2 separate regions of the Homo sapiens genome follow, and region 2 is linked to region 1. The links are contacts of gene promoters, found by promoter capture Hi-C in blood cells and fetal thymus (Javierre and others, 2016). All regions are on one chromosome and are shown on one strand. Each heading gives the region's core, a stretch centred on a gene start or on the middle of the fragment in contact. The rest is flanking DNA. Distances are from core to core; before and after follow the strand shown.

Evidence for each region. The method cuts DNA at HindIII sites, captures the fragments that hold promoters and counts their contacts. A CHiCAGO score of 5 or more calls a contact.
Region 2: a contact is called between a fragment that was not itself captured here and the fragment with the promoter of MPP7 in region 1, in 1 of 17 cell types (fetal thymus). The highest score is 7.7, in fetal thymus.

Annotation. Positions count from the first base shown.
Region 1 is chr10:28,301,005-28,305,493 of GRCh38, forward strand. It overlaps MPP7 (MAGUK p55 scaffold protein 7), which reads right to left and starts at 2,060. Exons shown (of 17, transcript NM_001318170.2): 1 at 1,857-2,060. It overlaps MPP7-DT (MPP7 divergent transcript), which reads left to right and starts at 2,165. Exons shown (of 2, transcript XR_930772.3): 1 at 2,165-3,425; 2 at 4,395-4,489. RefSeq lists a silencer at 1,607-2,246. The HindIII fragment of the contact is 2,637 bases long and covers 342-2,978 here.
Region 2 is chr10:27,749,952-27,754,477 of GRCh38, forward strand. All of the region lies in intron 1 of MKX-AS1 (MKX antisense RNA 1), which reads left to right. Among named protein-coding and RNA genes, the nearest start is that of MKX, 6.4 kb to the left of the region's middle. The HindIII fragment of the contact is 962 bases long and covers 991-1,952 here.

The DNA of each region.
Region 1 (4,489 bases), core at 810-3,309:
GATAACTAGTAAATTTAACAAAACCTAACGATTCTCTAGAATTCCCTAAGCCTTAACATCATACAAGCGGCTACTCCCAACTACCCATTTCAGCCTGTCCCACACTAATGCCCAAACTCCTTTGGTCAAGTTATTCTAATTAAGAAATTATTCTTCAATCCGTCTATAAATTTACAGTAAACACTTCCCGAAACAAAGTCATAAGTCATGATCAAAATGCATTACACTTCATTAGTATTTTCCTTCTGCATATCAATTATTTCTATTCAATTCAAAAAAAGGTACCGAAATTCAATGCTGAGCTAGAGATGCAAACACAAATAAGGTTCTCTAATTTGGAAAGCTTCCCAAAATTTAAAATAGAGATTTTCACACAGCATTCCTAACTTTTGTTTGTTTTGCCTGTGTGGAAAATTACCTTTCACCTGAAATTCAAACTAGCTAAGCAACCTGAATGGAAAGAAAAACCTCGCAGATAATATTTCTTTACTTGAAAATAACCATCTCCACCTCTGACCTGTGTATACGGGATCAAATTGGTATGCAGAAGTTGGCTTGATGGCGGGAATCTTACCCAGATTTTGGATTAAATCCATTATAGGTATAAAATAAAGTAGGAGTAAAGTGGGGCAGGATTCCTTTCATTTCTAGGGCTTTCAGTTGACATACCTGTAAAATGGACATGCTATGCACAGCCTGCCTCAGAAGAGTAGGAGGATGGCATACTATATAATTGATAGAGTGCTATGAGCTTCACGATTAAATGGAAATACTGTTTTTATAGAACCAGAGTGAACCTGAGCATAGAAAACTCTCCAAGGGCCATCGCTGTGACATTACCGCTAAAACTCAGTGACCTTCATCAATTCACTTGTAAACAAGCAATATATTGAGCAAGTCAAAGGAAAGGCAGCAACAATTCAAGATACTTCTTTATAAGTAAATCAAATTACGTAATTAATAGCCCAGGATTTACCTGCAAACTATTACTGCCTGACTAGCAGGTGCATCCCCAAAGCCTCGAGTACAGAGACTGTTTTTAGAGAGCCCCCCCTTTTTTAAATGTGAATATTGCTTTTAAAAATTAGAAAAAGAAAAAAATCACAATTCTACTCCCACCCATGGCACAGTGACAGAAACAAGGTCCCACCCCCACAATCCTTTCAAACCTGCACAGGCATTCCTCACGAACACTCCTCCCCCTCATTCCTACCTCACCGCTCCCCACTTCAGCCCAGACAAAGCTGAGTTACTCGGCTGGGTCTACCTGTCACTTAAGAAAAAGCCCCCAAATAGATTCACGCTAAATGCTGCTTTTAATTTTTTAAATAGCAAATAAGTAAATAAATAATGCTATCGTGTAGATTACACGGCCAAACGCCTGTTCTCAGAAAACATGTAATTAACACGACCCAAGTGAAGACGCCTTTCTGGCTTAGGGAAAGAAAAAAAAGAAGCCAGCCAGCTTATCGCTCCCTTTCAGTCGGTTCTTTTCCCCGGGGAGCCGGACTCTGACTCAACTCCGCAGTTTTTCCTCCACCTGTCGGTTCTCCCCGCTCTGGGTCTGCCCCGCCGCCGCCCCCGCCCGGAGTCCCGCGCGTCAACAGGGGTCTCCAGGGGTCCTCAGGGTCCCGCCCGAGGCGGCCCCGCCCCTGCCCCGGCCCCGCCCCCACCTCCTCACAAGGTGCCCGCCGCGGGCTCCCAGGCTGAGGCGCCTAGAGGCCGGCAGGAGGCTCCGGAGGACCGCGGCACCGCTCGGCCCGGTCGCCGGCGCAGGGAGCAGCTTCGGGGGCCGACCCCACCGCCCGAGCCTAGCCCTGGGCTCCGACAGGCGCTCCCCAGAGGCGCCCCATTACCTGCTCTGGGCTGCCGCGGTCCGCGGGCAGGAGGCGCACTCGCTCTGGCCCCTGCAGCCCCGGGCCCGGAGGCAAGGAGGCAGCGACCGCCACCGCCGCAGAGGACAATCGGGAGCCAGCGGGCTCGGCACCGCCGCGGCGGGCGCAGAACGCACGAGCCCAGTGGGAGCCCGGCCCCCGCCTCCAGCCCGGCTAGTAACCAACACGGCCCCCACCCTCGGAGGGGCGGGACCGCGGTTGGAGGGGCGGGGCGGGGCTGCACCGCCCGCGGGTAAGAGGGGCCTGCTGATAGGCTGCGAAGGCGATAGGCGTCTCAGACTTGAAGACGCCTCTCCAGCAGAACTCCCTCATTGGTCGGCAAGAGAAAACAAAGCTGGGCTCTGATTGGTGACAGCTCTGTAGCTCCTCCTCATACCCGCAGTCCCCGCAAGTTCCACCCCTGCCCGCCCGGTTCGCTCGCCCTTGGTTCCCACTCCCAGGTGGCTGCAGACTGGAGTGTGTTTCATGGACGAGCAACCTCCCTGAGGAGAACCCCGGATACGCAGGTTCATTCGCCAGATGCGAGTTTTCTTAAGCCGCTGCGATTCTCTGATTTCAGTATGAACTTGGTGAATAACGTAATCTTTAACTTCCTTTGGATTCAGACAAGTCTCCTAGGTTTAAAAATGCTGCATAAGATTGAGAGGGATATTGTTATGCACGAAAAAAGACATAAGGTGTTTTCACCTTTGGCGACACTGTAGGTGACTTTTTCTTATTACCTTTTTGTGTTCCATATTGAACATGTACTACATGATTAGAAAAAAAAATTCTTAAATAGAAAAATGAGTAGGGTGCGGAGAATGGTAAAGACAAACTTTAAGGAAATCCAGAGAACTGATTCTTTCACAATAGAAGAAAATACAGTAAACATGCTTAATATCTGAGGGCTACCCCGAAAAAACATGAACTGGTATCAGCGCCCTTCAGCTCTCTTAAAGAACTTTACATATGTGACCGAGGTGCCCCCATACTCCTTCCTATCATGTAACCAACACATAATGTGGACAGCACTACACTGCAAACAGAATTACAGGAAGACTCTTATAGGAAGAATTAGAATCCAAAGTACACAATCAATAAAGCTTTAGAAAAAGGGGTAGTAAAAAGCAGAAGACAAAAAAAAATCAGGTAATATAAATTGGAAAGCTCAGCTGATGGAGGGAATCATCAGAAAAAAAATAATGTGACAACACTTCAAGATGTGATAGAGACTTTGAATGGAAAGCTGAAGGGAGAGGAAGGGGATTGAGATAAGGATCAATGACCTGCAGTTAATATGAGCTCTCAGAACACATCCCCCAGAACTGGTGTCAGCCTAGAAGGCAAGAAGCATTTCTCACCTAGGGACCACTCTCACTTAACTCTCTCTAGCTGCCTTAACATTCTGTTTGTTCTTGTCATTCTCGCAAAGTTCTAAAACAGGCTATTTGAAATTAAGCACTTCCCCCCAGCAACTCCGTGAATTACGTAATAGTGAAAAATGGAGATAGACAAAAAGCAAACCTGAGGAAGGAAAGGAATGTTAAGGTAAACATAAACTTAAAGAGAAGTAAGGGCAAAACACCTGATAGAAAGAAGACAAGAAATTCTTTTTTCTCTCTTACTTCCTGAGAATAAAGTAAAGGTCTTTGGAGGACAGAATAACCTTATTGCCTAACAAAAAGAGTTTTTACCAAACCTTTCTAATAATAACTGTAATTCTAAACTGTAGTCTAAAAATACGTGTCCTAAAGTAAGTACTTTGAGCAAATAGTTTTGAGATCTAATATTTTTACATTGTGTAAGGAAAAGAAGAGGAACTTAGCCTAGTATGAACAAACTGTAGGGAATACCCTTCAAAAGTTTCTTCTACAATAACACCTGAAATTCCATCACTAACATTCTTTCACTGGGATTAAATAATGTATGTCTAAGATTATTCTTTTATTCATTTACTCATCAAACGTAATCAATATTAATCATCAAATACTAGATACTGCAATGAACGAGGCTTTCTACTAAGCACTCAGAGTATAGCCTTGAACAAGACAGACTTGCAGCTGTTTTTATCAGAAGATGGACAATGATCCAATAAAAAGATAAACTTCCAGACCGGGATCAGGGCAAAGAAGAAAACAGTGACCAGAGGGATGGGAGACACACTTAATTTTGGGAAAGGAGAAAAATGCTTTAAGGAGAAATGATCTAAGAGAAATGCTCTAAGATTTGAGGCACCACCTAAATAAGAAAACACCAACTTAGCAAAACTCCAGGGCAGATAAAATAGCAAGAACAAAGGACTTGAAGTAGGAAGAAAAGTGATGTATAGCAGGAACAGAGAGAAAGCCAGCATGGGTATCATGGTGCATAAGGAGAGTGCTACTAGACAGGTTGGAGAAGGAGGTGAGGACCTCGTAGGCAATGGTAACTTTGTATTTTGTTACAAGGATTCCTGACGGGCAACATCGAGTTGCTGATAGTGGAGTAAAATCATTATTTTTTTTTTTCCTTTTTCAGAGTCACCAGTAAAATGAGCATTCATTCATTAAGCCAATCATCAGGAATGGATCTAGGAAGAACCTACTGTTTACTAGAAATAGGTTAGATCTGTG
Region 2 (4,526 bases), core at 222-2,721, 550 kb before region 1:
GTTATGGTTCAGATTGAGATGGTTGATTCAATGGTGTTCTAGGATGAAGTCATTTATCAGCTTAGAAGCAGGAGATCAGTTTCCAGCAGCTGTATTTTCCACAGTACAGTGTGACTGCACATAGCTTTTCAAACACATCATGTAACAAAGAAGGGATACCCTATCACAAGCAATATAAGGTTATTTGTAAAAGTGATGAAAAAGCACCCATTGTTTGAAAAAGTAAAATGTATTTCTCTCCTTGCTCAACATTTCATGGAATGGGAATTAATTTTTTTTTCTTCACAAAGCAGCTAGTCAAGATAGGAACATTTGATAATGATTATATATGAGTCAAATTCATTCTGGCCAGAAATGCAAGTACTTTATCACCGCAATTTTAAAAACCATTAAGTATGTGCAAGTGCAGAAAATACACATAATAAGCAATCAATAGAACTGAGATCCAAGTGGGTTAACGTCTTGTTCTACTCCAGGTCTTGCTTGAGACAGGACCTGATGTGACACTGACCCCTAACAACCCATCTTTTCTCTTGATACCAAAGTATCTTCAGTGACCTCAAATTAGAGTCCCCTATATTACACACAAGAAAATATACTATACATTGGGGTCTTGAGGGGAACTGGCAGAATATTTCATCCTTAAAATACGCATTTACACTTACATACTAGAATTACTTTCAGAAGACTCTTCTAGCTTGAGAATCAATTTGCCTTTATGTCAAAAAGTGTCCTTTTAAATAAAAATAGTGAAGACTTTTGTCCCTAGGCCAGTAGGGCTCTATGTATGAAACCTAATGGACTTCAGGAAATCCGTAGATTTTAAATATTTAATCATGATATGTGCTCCAAAATGTGTCATGCTTTTGGTTGACCCTCCCCAAATCCATCTTCTCTGTTTTCATTTTCAATCTATGTGTAGGATAACTGAATAGATTCACCAAAGGACTGAATGTGAGCAGGAGTGATGTGTGCAACTTCTGCTCAACAAGCTTAGAAGGAAATTGCTGCCCTTCTCTCCCTTTAACTCTTCCTGTGTCCAACGGTTGGAGCATGGATGTGGCAGGGTATTAGTTCACTCCAGCTGCCATCACAGAATATCACAGACTGGGTGGCTTAAATGACAGAAATGTATTTTCTCACAGTTTTGGAGACTCAAAGTCCAAGATCAAGGTGCTGGCAGGGTTGGTTTCTGGTAAATTCTCTCCCCGACTTGCAGACAGCACCTTCTTACTGTGTCCTCACATGACCTTTTCTCTGTGCTCATGCTGGGGTGGGGTAGAGAGGAGGAGAAAGAGAAAGAGAGAGAGAGAGAGAGAGAGGTCTGCTACCTCTCCCTCTTTTTAAAAAGGACACCAGTTGTAGCAAATTAGGATCCCACTGTTGTAATTTCATTTAACTTTTTTTTTTTTTCTGAGACAGAGTCTAATTCTGTTACCCAGGCTGGAGTGCAGTGGAGCTATCTTGGCTCACTGCAACTTCTGCCTCCCAGGTTCAAGCAATTCTCCTGCCTCAGCCTCCTGAACAGCTGGGATTACAGGTGCCTGCCACCTCGCCCACCTAATTTTTGTATTTTTAGTAGAGATGGGGTTTTGCCATGTTGGCCAGGCTGGTCTCAAACTCCTGACCTCAAGTGATCCACACACCTTGGCCTCCCAAAGTGAGCCAACATGCCTGGCTGACCTCATTTAACTTTATTCACCTCATTAAAGGCCTTGTCTCCAAGTTCAGTTCCATTGGGGGTTAGGGTGTCACATATGAATTTTGAGGGGACACAGGTCAGTCCGTAACAGGCAGTGACCCATGTCAGCCGAGCAGCAAATAACCTAAGAAACAGCAGAATCGCAAGATAAAGGGAACCTGTGGCTTTGAATGAATCACTCCAGTGAGAGCTATCAGGCTAACCTAACCTGAGTCCAAAAACCTTTTTCTGTAAAGGGCCGGATAGCAAAAGCTTTCTGGGCCCCGTGATCTCCCCGATGATGATTGAACTCCATCACTGTGGTGCAGAAGCAACTGTAGACAAGACTTGACTATGAATGAGTTAAGGAATGAGTGTTGATGTGTTCCAATAAGACTTGATTGAATGACACTAAAGATTGAATTTGTGTCATTCTCATTCTCACTGATATGGCTTGGCTGTGTCCTCACCCAAATCTCATCTCGAATTGTAGCTCCCACAATTCCCACGTGTCATGGGAGGCACCTGGTGGGAGGTAATTGAATCATGGGGGCAGGTCTTTCCCGTGCTGTTCCTGTGATAGCAGTGATAGTGAATAAGTCTCATGAGATCTGATGGTTTTATAAAGGGGAGCTCCCCTGCACAAGCTTTCTTGGCTGCCACCATGTAAGACGTCCTTTTGCTCCTCATTCTCCTTCTGCCATGATTGTGAGGCCTCCCCATCCATGTGGAACTGTGAGTTCATTAAACCTCTTTCCTTTATAAATTACCCAGTCTCAGATATGTCTTTATTAGCAGCATGAGAAGAGACATACACATACAATAGTGTTGCTGCTTTTATTTTTTATTTCCAACCAGTTAAAGATGTAAAAGCTATTCTTACCTGAGAAATTGGAAAAGGCCATGAGCTGCATTTTGCCGGCGAGGGGTTGTGTTTGCTGACCTATGACTTGGACTACTCAGCTCTCATTGCAGGGGAGACAAATACCCCTTATTTAAGTCACTGTATTTGGGGGCTTCCTTGCTAAAGGAACTTAGTCTTTACCCTAAGTAATAGACACTTGTAAAAAAAATGATCCCAGTGGCCACAGGTGGGCTTAAGAAAAGCGCTTCCTAGATGCCTAGAGGCTGCCACACCAGGGCGATCTGGAAAGGAGATGGAAAGAAAAAGTGCTTCCTCCCCTTGCCTCCTGAGACAGTGTTGCATGTGTTTAGAGAATCAGCCTTATTATTTTCACATTTATTTGGCGCTATGGTCTTTTTAAAAATCTTAATTTTTCCTTTCCTTTCCCCTTTCCTTTCCTTTCCCCTTTCCTTTCCTTTCCCCTTTCCTTTCCTTTCCCTTCCCTTGCCCTTCTCTTCCCTTCCCTTCCCTTCCCTTCCCCCTCCCCTCCCTTGCCTTCCCTTCCCTTCCCTTTCCTTCATTTCCTTTCCTTTTTCATTTCCTTTCATTTCTCCTTTCCTTTCCTTTCCTTCTTTTCTTTACTCTCTCTCCCTTTCTCCTTCTCTCCCTCTTTTTCCTCCTTCCTTCCTCTCTCCCCCCTTCCTTCTTTCCTTCCTTCCTTTCTCCCTCTCTTTTCCCTCCCTTCCTTCCTTCCTTTCTTCCTCTCTCTCTTTTCCCTCCCTTCCTTCCTTCCTTCCTTTCTCCCTCTCTTTTCCCTCCCTTCCTTCCTTCCTTCCTTCCTCTCTCTCTTTTCCCTCCCTTCCTTCCTTCCTTCCTTCCTCTCTCTCTCCCTTCTTTCCATCTTTTCTTCCTCCCTCCCTCCCTCCCTTCCTTCATTTCTTTCTTCCTCTTTCCCTCCCTTCTTGCTTACATCCTTCCTCTCACCCGCTTCTTCCCTTCTTCCCTTCCTTTCTTTCTTCCTCTTCTTAGTTATTGATATGATACAATATGATATGATATGCCTTAGTTATTGATGTGATATGCCTTAGCGATTGATACGATATGCCTTAGTTATTGATATGATCTGCCTTTAGGCGCAGTATTGGTACTTGGGTTTTGATGCTTATGTTTTATGTAATCACGGAAAATGCTGATTAATTTTCAAGGCTTACTGTTTTCTGACTGACACCCCACCACCCCCCCTCCAAAAAACTCACAAAATTTGAGCTATTTTTTATTGTTTTCTTTTTAATAATCAACAATACGTATTTATGGAGCACCCGCATGCAAAGTTCTGTGCCAAGAACTGCATCGTATCTGATTTAAAAGACACGATCCTTGCCTAGCTTACAAACCTGTTAAGAAAGCACTGGAAAATAAATATACCTCATCTAAAAAGCCTTAGGGTATCTGATATAAAGATTGCTTGAATCCAGTAAATCTATAAGTCATCTGTAGCAATGCATGAGGGAGCTTAAAGATGACAGAATGATAATTTTATGTGTCTGCTAAAAATTTTGTAACCATATTACCAACATCCTTCCCGAAAACATGCAAAAAGAGAGCATTATTTCAGAAATTTGAGCCTGATTGAAAAACAGTATTTTCACCTCTTACATCAGGCTGTTTTGAATGTTATGCCAAAAACTTCTGGGTTTCAAGAAAGATTTTTAGGACTTCCGTTGAGAAAAAAAAATGTGGTAATGGCAGACACACAGAGGTTAGCTTTTGGCTTTTCTTCCCTGTGCATGCCTTTATCTAACCTACCTCCCTGCAACCCACTTTTATAAAACCCCTGTTTTGGAAAAGTGCTAAAGGGAGAGAGGGATTGGAACAGAGGTGTTCTGTGCATAAACTTGTTATGGGTGGCAGTGAAGTCATTCCTGGGGCTCCACTCATTCTCTGCACAAGAAAGATTAATTCTTGCCCAAGTATCTGGGCCAGGGAACCTCAGGCCAGGCA